2 separate regions of the Homo sapiens genome follow, and region 1 is linked to region 2. The links are contacts of gene promoters, found by promoter capture Hi-C in human tissues and cell types (Jung and others, 2019). All regions are on one chromosome and are shown on one strand. The core of a region is centred on a gene start or on the middle of the fragment in contact, and the rest is flanking DNA. Distances in the headings are between cores, read along the strand shown. Region 1 overlaps DYM (dymeclin). Region 2 holds the start of SMAD7 (SMAD family member 7).

Region 1 (5,270 bases), core at 2,512-5,011, 440 kb after region 2:
AGATCCCACCTCTACAGAAAACTTAAAAATTATCCAGGCATGGTGACATATGCCTGTAATCCCAGCTACTCAGGAGGCTGAAGTGGTAGGACCTCTTGAGCCCAGGAAGCTGAGGTTGCAGTGAGCGGTGATAGTGCCACTGCACTCTAGCTGGGAAACAGAGTGAGACCCTGTCTCAAAATAAAAATAAAAATAAAAAAAAGGAAAACATTAGAAACTAAAGATGAATTAACAGAAAATATCTCATTGAAGGTCAGAGAGAAAAAGAATGTAAACTACAAAAGAAAAAAGGCCTAACAAGTATATGGGACACAATGGAAACAAAACATTGAACAGAAGTGTAACAAGCGTCCCAGGAGGAGAGGAGAGACAGAATAGAACAAAAATTTTATATATAAACACATAATGGCTAAGAATTTTCCAATACTGATAAAAGACACCAACTCACAGATTTAAGAATCTCTACAAACCTCAGGCGACAAAAAAACAAAGAAAACCTCTCCTCAGCACATCACTCTAAGGCTACTGAAAATCAAAAGATAAAAAGAAAAACTTAAAAGCAGCCGAAGTTAAAAATTCCATTATTTTCAAAGAAGCAACAATAAGGTTGACTGCTTTCTTCACAACAAAAACAAGAAAAGCTAGAAAATAACGAAATGACACCTTTAAAGTACGGAAAATAAATTAACGTCTATCTAAAATTCTATATCCAGCAAAACATATGCTTCAAAAGCCAAGAAAAAAAATAGCACATTTTCAGACAAAAAAAAAAAAAAAGAAAAAAGAGAAGGAAAATTGTTGCCAGTAGACCAGCACTTAAAAAAATTTTTTTTTCAAAAAGGAAACTAAGTACACTCACATAGCCCTTAAAGTTGATATGCACTTATACTTATTGATGTGAAGAGGTTCCTGACATGTTGCTGCGTGTAAACAAAATATAAATAATACCATTTATATGAAATTGTCACAAAAGATTAGCAGTGATTACACATGTACTGTTTAATATGAGATGATTTTTATTTTAGCCATACCATCACATTACTGGAATTTGGGGCAATAAATGTATATCTTGTTTTGCTGTTCCCAAAAGTATTTTTAAACATGTAACACATTCCTGATACAATGTCAAGTGAAAAACACAGATTAAAATGTGTGTGTGTGTCTGTGTGTGTGTGTGTGTGGTGGATGATATATATATAAATTTATATCTATTGAATAAGTAGTAGAAGAAAAAATACAAAAATATCAACAATGCCTATGTCAGGGTTTTCAAATTATGAGCAATTACTACCTCATTTACATTTTAGTATGCTTTCCACATTATGTATAATGAGTAAATATTACTTGCTTTTTTTCGCCCCTAGATTTGGAGTCTTGCTGTATTGTCCAGACTGGAGTCCAGTGGCGCCATCATGGTTCCCTGCAGCCTCAAATTCCTGGGCTCGATCAATCCTCCTACCTCAATCTCGCAAGCAGCTGAGACTACAGGCACATGCCACCATGCCTGGTTAAGTTTTTTCAATTTTTTTGCGTGTAGATGGGTAAGATGTAGATTTTGTAAGAGATGGGGTCTTATTATGTTGCCCAAGCTGGTCTTGAACTCTGACCTCAAGCAACCCTCCTGCCTCAGCCTCCTAAAGTTACCAGTATTACAGGCATGAGCCACCACTCCCAGCTACTTTCAGTTTTCTTAATGTAATTTTTTCTTTGTTTTCTCATTGCTTTGTTATATTTTTGTTTTTTCATCTTTTAATTTTATAATTTTTTTAAAAACCCAAAGTCACCTTAAAAGCCATTATCACAGTAACTACACTAATATTGTTACATAAAACTCCTTAATTTTCAGCACTGAATTGCGACATGGCTTTTGAAAGCCAGCTCTATTTAGCAAAAAATTCCCTAAGCTATGGTTGTAAGGCAAGACAACTACTACAATAACACCTTTTCATTATCAACATAGTTTGTTTTTAAAAACAAAAATATTTGGGCCCAGGCACGGTGGCTAACACCTGTAATATCCCAACACTTTGGGGGTCCAAGGTAGGAGGAGGAAGGCTTGCGGCCAGGAGCCTGAGACTAGCCTCGGCAACACAGGAGACCCCCATCTATACAAAAATAAAATAAAATCATTAGGCAGGTGTGGTGCCATGCACCTATAGCCCCAGCTTCTGAGGAGGCTGAGGTGGAAGGATCACTGAAGCCCAGGAGATCAAGGCTGCAGTGAGCCACAATGGCACCAGTGCACTCCAGCCTGGGCAGCAAAGCAAGACTCTATCTCTTTAAAAAAAAAAATAAATCATCAAAAACTGTTTTTAGCAAAATAGTTTATATGGGAGTTATCCATACAGCTCGATTTTTTTTTTTAATGTTTTTTGAGACAGAGTCTCGCTCTGTCGCCCAGGCTGGAGTGCAGTGGCGCGATCTCGGCTCACTGCAACCTCTGCCTCCCGGGTTCAAGCAATTCTCTGCCTCAGCCTCCCAAGTAGCTGGGATTACAGGCGCCCACCACCATGCCTTGCTAATTTTTGGATTTTTAGTAGTGACGGGGTTTCACCATCTTGGCCAAGCTGGTCTTGAACTCCTGACTTCGTGATCCACTCGCATCAGCCTCTCAAAATGCTGGGATTATAGGCGTGAGCCACTGTGTCCGGCCTAGACAGCCTGATTTTAAAACAGAATATTGTTCTCACTTATTACATTCCTGTACCCTAGGTATTTCACAGACACATTGTCTTACTTTTCAAAGCACCAATGCAATCTAAGTAAAACTGCCTGCATTTTAAAAATATATACAATTTCCTTCCAATTGCTATGAACTTGAAAGTTAAGCATTTGAGAAACAAGACCTGAAAAGGGTAACATTTGCTGACATAAATGGTTTGCAATGACTACATGACACACATTGTACTGAATATTTCATATTACCTAATTTTTCCTTATAAGAATCCTGTAAATAGTTGTCCTTATCCTCAATCTATATGAGGAAATTAAGGCTCAGCTAATAGGTAGCACAGCTGAAATTAAAATCATAAAATGATTCTGGATTCCATGCTCTTTGCCATAATATCAAGTTGTTATGGAAACTTCCTAATATACATTCTTAATAGATTTTAATATTGTTCTGGTGAACATAGTCAATAACAGCACTTGGTAAATCACATTATTTTCAGTATTTCAAAATTCACAAAAAGAACAAGACGAAAGAGTGTCTATGGCTTAGCAGAGTCCATTACCACTACTGCAGATATAGCCAAGCATGTGTCATATTGCTATTGACTGAAGGGTACCTTCTAGCAGCATCTGTGAATGCCACAAATAGAAAAAATTATTACTATTGCTATCAAAGAAGAGTAATTACTTCATTAATTCAGTTCATATTATACTATCAAAATCTAAAACAAAATTTGAAAACAACACCCCACACACATTTTTCCCACTTACCTAATGACCTGCAGACTGAAATGGTTGCTTCCTCCAAGAGTTTCAACTCACTACTGGAGAGACAGAAGAATAAAGGTAATTAATGACTATAATACTAAATATGTACATGCTAATCAGTTAAAGAAATATATAAAGATAAGAAAAATAATTTAGAAGAAAAATATGGTGCACAGTAGTGAACAATAAGATCAGCAAAAAAAAAAGTTAGGCTTCAATTTTCAATATAATTAGGAAATTTACTGTATTTCTAAATATGAGACTCCTAAAGAGAAGAGCTTGGGGCACCCTGCCTTTCAGGCATTAAGGCAGCAGGGAGACTTAGAAAAATTCAAGAAAGGCACTCCAAAGTAGAGAGCTCAAGGCAAGGGCCCTGTGTGCCCAATTCTAAAGGCAGTACTAATTATAGTTTAGAAATATGCTATTATTTTTAGGAAATACATGGAGTGTCATGATTGCTACAATACTTTCAAAAAGTTCTAGAAAAAAAGGAAAAGGAAGAAATAAAGCAAGAAAAGAGAGACGATACATATATGTTTTGGTGGTTTATAAATATATAGAAAAAAGATACAAAGATACAAACATACAGAAACAGATACAGAGACAGACTCAAGATGACACAGAGAAAAGAGGCACAGATAGACAGAGACAGAAATAAAGCTTAGAAGAAAATATGTTTCTTGAGATTGCATTTGACAACAATTTCTTGGATGTGACACCAAAAAGCACAGGTATCAACAGAAAAAAACAGACATGCTGGACTTTACCAAAATTAAAAACTTCTGTGGATCAAAGGATACTATCTACAGAGTGAAAAGTCAACCCACAGAATGGAAAACAGTACTTGTAAATCACATATCTGATAAGAGATTGATATCCAGAATATACTTTTAAAACTCCTACAACTCAACAACAACAAAAACCAAACAACCCAATTTTAAAATGGACCAACGACTTAAATAGCCATTTTCCAAAGAGGATATAGAAATGGCCAATAAGTACATGAAAACATGCTCAACATCACTAGTCATTAGTGAAACACTAAAACCAGAGCGAGATACTACTCCACACCCATTGGGATGGCTTTTATTTAAAAAAAAAAAAAAAAAAAAAAAAAAAAAGAGGCCAGGCGAGGTGGGCTCACACCTGTAATCCCAGCACTTTGGGAGGCTGAGGAGGGCAGATAACTTGAGGTCAGGAGTTCAAGACCAGCCTGGCCAATATGGTGAAACCCATCTCTACTAAAAATACAAAAATTAGCCAGGCATGGTGGTACACGCCTGTGATCCCAGCTACTTGGGAGGATGCAGCAGGAGAATTGCTTGAACCCAGGAGGCAGAGGTTACAGTGAGCCAAGATCGTGCCACTGCACTCCAACCTGGGAGACAGAGTCAGACTCCATCTCAAAAAAAAAAAAAGAAGAAGAAGAAGAGGAAGAAGGAGGAGGAGGAGGAGGAGGAGGGGAGGAGGGGAGGAGGAGGAGGAGGAAAGAAGGGAGGGAGGGAAGGAAGGAAGGAAGGAAGGAAGGAAGGAAGGAAGGAAGGAAGGAAGGAAGGAAGGAAGGAAGGAAGGAAGGAAAAAAGAAAGTAACAAGTGTTAGCAAGGATGCAGAGAAATTAGGACCCTTGTGCACTGATGGTATGTAAAATGATGCAGCCACTATGGCAAAAATATGGCAGTTCCTCAAAAAATTAAACATAAAATTACCATCCGGGTAGATACCCAAAAGAAGTGAAAGCAGGGTCTTGAAGAGATAGTTGTACACTCGTGTCCATGGCAGCTCCACTAACAGTAGCCAAGAGGTAGAAGTAACCCACATGTGTACCAACAGA
Region 2 (5,390 bases), core at 436-2,935:
CGGCCACGACAGTATCTGGGCCACTGGTGTTCGACGTGATTCTCCGTATTTACTAAAGGAGTAAATACGGAGACCTTCCAGCCTTTATAGCACGCCTCTCCCAGCCTTCCTTGGCGGGCCTGGACCAAATCCAACTCGGCCACACACCTCAACGTCTTTCCGGGTGCGGGGAGGCGTGACCCCCCCACCTCCCTCTGCACCCCCTTGTTGATCCGGAAATGAAGGCGTCTAATTTTTAACCGCAGACTGCAGGAGCAGTGCCCGTAGACCCCTTCGGGGCAACACAGGAGAAAACCTGGAAGGGAACCCCCAGGGAATGCCCTTTGAGTTTCCCCTTGTCCCTTCTCTACTTTCAGCCCCCAGTCTCTTCCCAGGAGGGTATGCACACTCTCCCAGGAGGGTATGCACACTCTCCCAGGAGGGTATGCACACTCCCCCTGGAGGGATGGCTGCACAAACGCACTGCCCTAGGGGCTTTTCTTCCAGCACTGGCGCTCCGGAAAATGTTGGGGGTAGGGGGACAACTTCTCACCTAGTTCGCAGAGTCGGCTAAGGTGATGGGGGTTGCAGCACACCAGCTCGGGGTTGATCTTCCCGTAAGATTCACAGCAACACAGCCTCTTGACTTCCGAGGAATGCCTGAGATCCGGCCACCTGAACACTTTGCACAGCAGGAGGGGGAGCGAGTAGGACGAGGGCGGCTGCGCAGGCTGCGCGCCGGCGGGCGCCCCCGGGCCCAGCCTGCAGTCCAGGCGGCCGGGCAGCAGGAGGCACGCGGTGCGCGTCCCGCCGCGGGACTCCACGGCCTGGAGCAGCAGCTCCAGCTGCCGCTCCTTCAGTTTCTTGAGCACCGAGTGCGTGAGCGCCTTCAGATCCGCCTCGGCGCCCCCGGCCGCGCCGGCGCCCGCGGCTGGCGGGTGGGGATGGTGGTGACCTTTGGCACCTCGCACCGCCTTGCCCAGGCAGCATCCAGCCCTGCCCGGGCCGCCGCCACCGGCCCCATGCGCTCGGCTGTCCGTCGCCCCTTCTCCCCGCAGCTCGCCTCCTCCTCCACCTCCCCCTGCGCCCTCCTCCTCGTCCTCGCCGCCGGGCGCACGGCTCCTCCAGAGACGCCGGACGAGCGCAGATCGTTTGGTCCTGAACATGCGGGGCGAGGAGGCGAGGAGAAAAGTCGTTTGCCTGCTAAGGAGCGAACATGACCTCCGCACACCATGAAGAAGTCGGGCGCCGAGTTGGGGCAGCAGGCGCAGGCGACAGCAGCAGCAGCAGGGGCCCGGGCAGGAGCGGCGGCGGCCCGAGGGGCGCTCCGTGGCATGCGCCAGTCTCCCGGAGGCCGGGGCGCGCGCGGGGGCCCGGGGGCGCCCGCCGGGGATCGGGGGCCTGCGCTCCGGCTGCCCCACCCCGCGCGGCCCGCGCCCTGCGCGGCTCTCCGGCCCCGGCGCGCCCCGGAGGAACCCGGCCGCCGCTTCCCTGGGGACGGCCGAGCCTGCCCCCGTCGGCGCCTCCCCAAAAAGAGGCCCCCCCGCAGTGGCTCCCGAATGTCGGGCTCGCCAGCCTCGGCTTCCTACATGGAAGGTCCGCGGGGGCAAAAAACGAAAGGCGTTCGGCTGGGCTGTTGGAAGAAGGAAAAAGCCTCTTTCCCCCTTGCTAAGCAACTTAATTTGGGGGTGGGGAGAAGCAGGCAATTAAAAAAAAAAAAGCAAGCGATTTATTTTTTTCCTCTATATCCTTAGTAACCGGATCTCCTCGAATTCCGCGCACACGAAGACTCAGGGGAGGGGGCCGAGTGGACTTCACCCCGCATGAGACGTCTGGCAAAATAAGAAGGCTCTCGCAAAACCTAACAACCAAATATGCAAAGCCCCAAATGAAAACCACCACCTCCTCGAACCTCAGAGGTCTGGGGGCGTCCGGCTGGAACTGGGGTTTAAAAAAAGAAAATGTTTACAAAGTATAACAAGATGTTTGATGGGTGGAAAAATGTATCCACGAGTTACATCCCCCCGTTTCCTTGCAAAGCCCCGCTGGTCTTCCTCTCCTTTTCTTCTGCCAAAAAAAAAAAAAAAAATCGTGTATTTTTTTAATCCACAGAAAGCTTTGGCTAGACCGCTTCAATCCTGCGCATCTGGGTGGTTTAGGGGAGTCTCTGGTCTTTCCCCCTGCGCTCCTGGGGGCCCAGGTCCTCGGCGGGGACTTCCTCGAGGCTGGCGCGGGCGCAGGGGCAGAAGATGCTGCGGCGGCGGCTGAGCCCGGCGGGGCTGACAGCGCGGGGGAGGGTGGCGCGGCGGCGGCGGAGGGCCCCAGACGGGTCGCGCGTTCTCGCCCCCCCCGGGCACAAGCTGCTTGCTAGTGCAGGGGCCGCCGATGTCCCTTCCCCTGGCCGCGGCTGGCCGCCGAGGCTCCCCGCATGGGCTGCTCGCCTCGACCCAGCTGCGGCGGCAGGAGGCCCCGGTGTCCTCTCGGCGCCTCCTCCTCCGAGACTCTCCTCGTCGCGCCCGGGAGCCTCCTTGTCCCCGGTCCGCCCTCTCCTGGCGCTCCGGTCCTTCTGCCGCCGCCAGGGGCTCGCCGCGCCGCACTCAGGGGCTCAGGGGCCGGGCGCTCGGCGGCTCGGCGCCGACGGACTGGCTCTGTCTCGGGCAGCTCTCTCCCGCGCGGCGAGCGGACCGAGCACGGCGCCCGGCTGGCTCGGCTGGCGCGGCTCGGGGACAGGATCTTCCGTGCGCCGAGCAGCAAGCGAGTGTGCCCGGGGCTCACCGCCTCCCGCAAGGCCTCCCGCCCCCGCCCCCTTCCCTCCCCCTTCCTCCCCCTTCCCTCCCCCGCCCCCAGCCGCCGCAGCCGCGCCGCCTCCTCCCCGCCCCCCCGCACCCCCCCTCCGGCCCTCTGCTCGGCTGGTTCCACTGCGCAGTGGCGCGCCCGGCTCCGGCCTCGTCACGTGGCCGTCTAGACACCCTGTCGCTTTAAAAAAAAAAAAAAAGCGATTGTGTTTCGCAAACAACAGATCGGGTTTCTAAAAGCTATTTCTCCCCCCAACCCCCCGCCACCGCCACCCCCTCCCGGGTCTGTAGAGGGGGTACCGATGGAGGGGAGAGAGATAGGTGGGGGGCAGAGAAGCTCCCAGAATGGATTGAGCCCCGGCCGGAGCCATGGAGAAATTGGAAAAGCAGGGAGCACCGAGCGGGCTTCGCCGCGAGTTTTGGAGCTGAGCGAGCGGGTCGGTGGCCCGATTTCGACCCGGCTGGGTTTCGCGGTGGCCATCTCGCGCGCGCTCGCCCTAGCGCTTCATTCATTGGTTTTGTTTTAAAGGCCCTGGCGGTGGATCCCTTGGCCGCGCCCGAGGGCAAGGGGAGGAGAGCGCTGTCTCGGTTTAAAAGACATTTATACCGGACTGGACCGAGGCCCTGGGAAGTGTGCGCTGAGGGGAACAGCCGCCGAGGGCGGGGAGGCGGCGTGAATATGACCTCAGCGGCGGCCGCGCGCTCCCTCCCGCCCTCTCAGCTCCGGGCTCCGGTTTCTAGGACTGCCTGGAGAAGTGTGTCTTGTGCACAGCTCTGGAATGCATTTGGCCGGCTGACGAGCTGTGAGGGGCAGCATCCCGGCGGGAGAAGGGGAGCGGGGGTGGGGGCTCGCCTGCGCGCCGCGGGCAGGTTTCCTCCCGGGCCCGGAAGACCTCCGCCACCCGCCACCCTGCCTCCCGGCGCGGGAAGGTTACCCAGCGAGCAGACCTGCCTAGGGCATTCATTTGCATGCAGGCCCTGTTTCTGGGCCTCGTAGCTTTCAAGGTGCTTAGAGTCAGAGAGTTTATTCCTTGACCCCAGGTCCCGAAGAAACATATACCCAAGCTGGCGGGTTACTGCATAGAAACGGGCATGGCATTGCTAGGGCATAAACGCATTTACAGCGTGAAAGCTGATGGCTCCGAGAAACGTAATGATTTAAATACACACACATCAGTATTGATGAGGCCACTAGTTGGCATGGTGATCTAACCTCACTTCATATTCAGTGAAATACGATTTTTTTAAAAAGCCATTGAGAATTGTGAGATCAGGCCAGCAGTGAAACTCGTTGGGGGCTTTAAAGAATCTTTTTTTCTTTCTTTCTTTCTTTTTTTTTTTTTTTTTAGAGTCTCACTCTTCACCCGGGCTAGAGTCCAGTGGCTCGATTTCGGCTCACTGCAGCCTCTGCCTCCCCAGATCAAACGATTCTCCCACCTCAGCCTCCGGAGTAGCTGGGACTACAGGCGCGCGCCACCACATCTGGCTAATTTTTGTATTTTTTGGTAGTGACGCGGTTTAACCATGTTGGCCAGGCTGATGTGGAACTCCTGACCTCAAGTGATCTACCTGCCTCAGCCTCTCAAAGTACTGGGAGTACAGGCGTGAGCCACTGCACCTGGCCTTAAAATAATCTTTAGAAAAGGTGAAATGTGCCCAGGTGCGATGGCTCACGCTTGTAATCCCAGCACTTTGGGAGGCTGAGGCAGGTGGATCACCTGAGGTCAAGAGTTTGAGACCAGCCTGGCCAACATGGTGAAACCCGTCTCTACTAAAAATACAAAAATTAGCCAGGCGGGTGGCGCGCGCCAGTAATCCCAGCTGAGACAGGAGAATTGCTTGAACCCGGGAGACGGAGGTTGCAGTGAGCTGAGATCGCGCCACTGCACTCCATCCTGGGCAACAGAGTGAGACTCTGTCTCAAAAAAAGAAAAGAAAAAAAGAAAAGTAAAGATGAAATGTACATCTTGCCGGCTAAATTATATGTTCTTAAAAGGAAAAGGCAGGAATGAATCTTAGCCGCCTTTAGAGCTCAAGTCCTCTCCCCCTCTAGCAATTAAAAAGATTTCTAACATATTAGTACAATAGTAGATGCTTAATAAATATTTAGAAATCAACACTTAGGGCTTAAGGGGCATTTGGACCCTTCCTCCACCCCACCAAAAGTACCTTTGGTAATATAAATTCAAGAGGAAATCAGCAACATTGCTTACATGATCATTTCCAGGCAAGGAGATCCTAACACTTATTGACTTGGAAGATAGTAGGATGCCAAGCAGTGCAGAACCCTACTGGACGGACAGAAGCTGCCATTCTGAACATTTACTGTGTAAGGCCACATAAGCTGCAGTTGTATAACATCATAATTTTGTTGTAAATTAAAATATGGCTTGTATAAAAGGGCATTGAAACCTTGTGTGTGTATTAAAAAAACATTCTAAGAAGCAACCTGTGAAGACAGCAGCTGAGAAAGCACAGGAGAGAATGGAGAAGGAGTGTAATCCCAGCACTTTGGGAGGCCTATCATGATAGGCAAGGGAAGACGAAAGAGACAGAAGTGGGATTTTTTTTTTTTTTTTTTTTTTTGAGATGGAGCCTTGCTTTGTCACCCAGCCT

Evidence for each region. Contacts are between HindIII fragments. The study calls those that stand out against the background at their distance.
Region 1: a fragment that was not itself captured here is called in contact with the fragment with the promoter of SMAD7 in region 2 in 1 of the 25 tissues and cell types used here (lymphoblastoid cells).

Annotation. Positions count from the first base shown.
Region 1 is chr18:49,388,152-49,393,421 of GRCh38, forward strand. DYM (dymeclin) reads right to left here. Exons shown (of 18, transcript NM_001353214.3): 3 at 3,442-3,494. Among named protein-coding and RNA genes, the nearest start is that of DYM, 70 kb to the right of the region's middle. The HindIII fragment of the contact is 3,584 bases long and covers 1,970-5,270 here.
Region 2 is chr18:48,949,280-48,954,669 of GRCh38, forward strand. It overlaps SMAD7 (SMAD family member 7), which reads right to left and starts at 1,686. Exons shown (of 4, transcript NM_005904.4): 1 at 533-1,686. The coding sequence starts at 1,145. RefSeq lists silencers at 624-943, 2,160-2,859, 3,430-3,769. The HindIII fragment of the contact is 10,376 bases long and covers 464-5,390 here.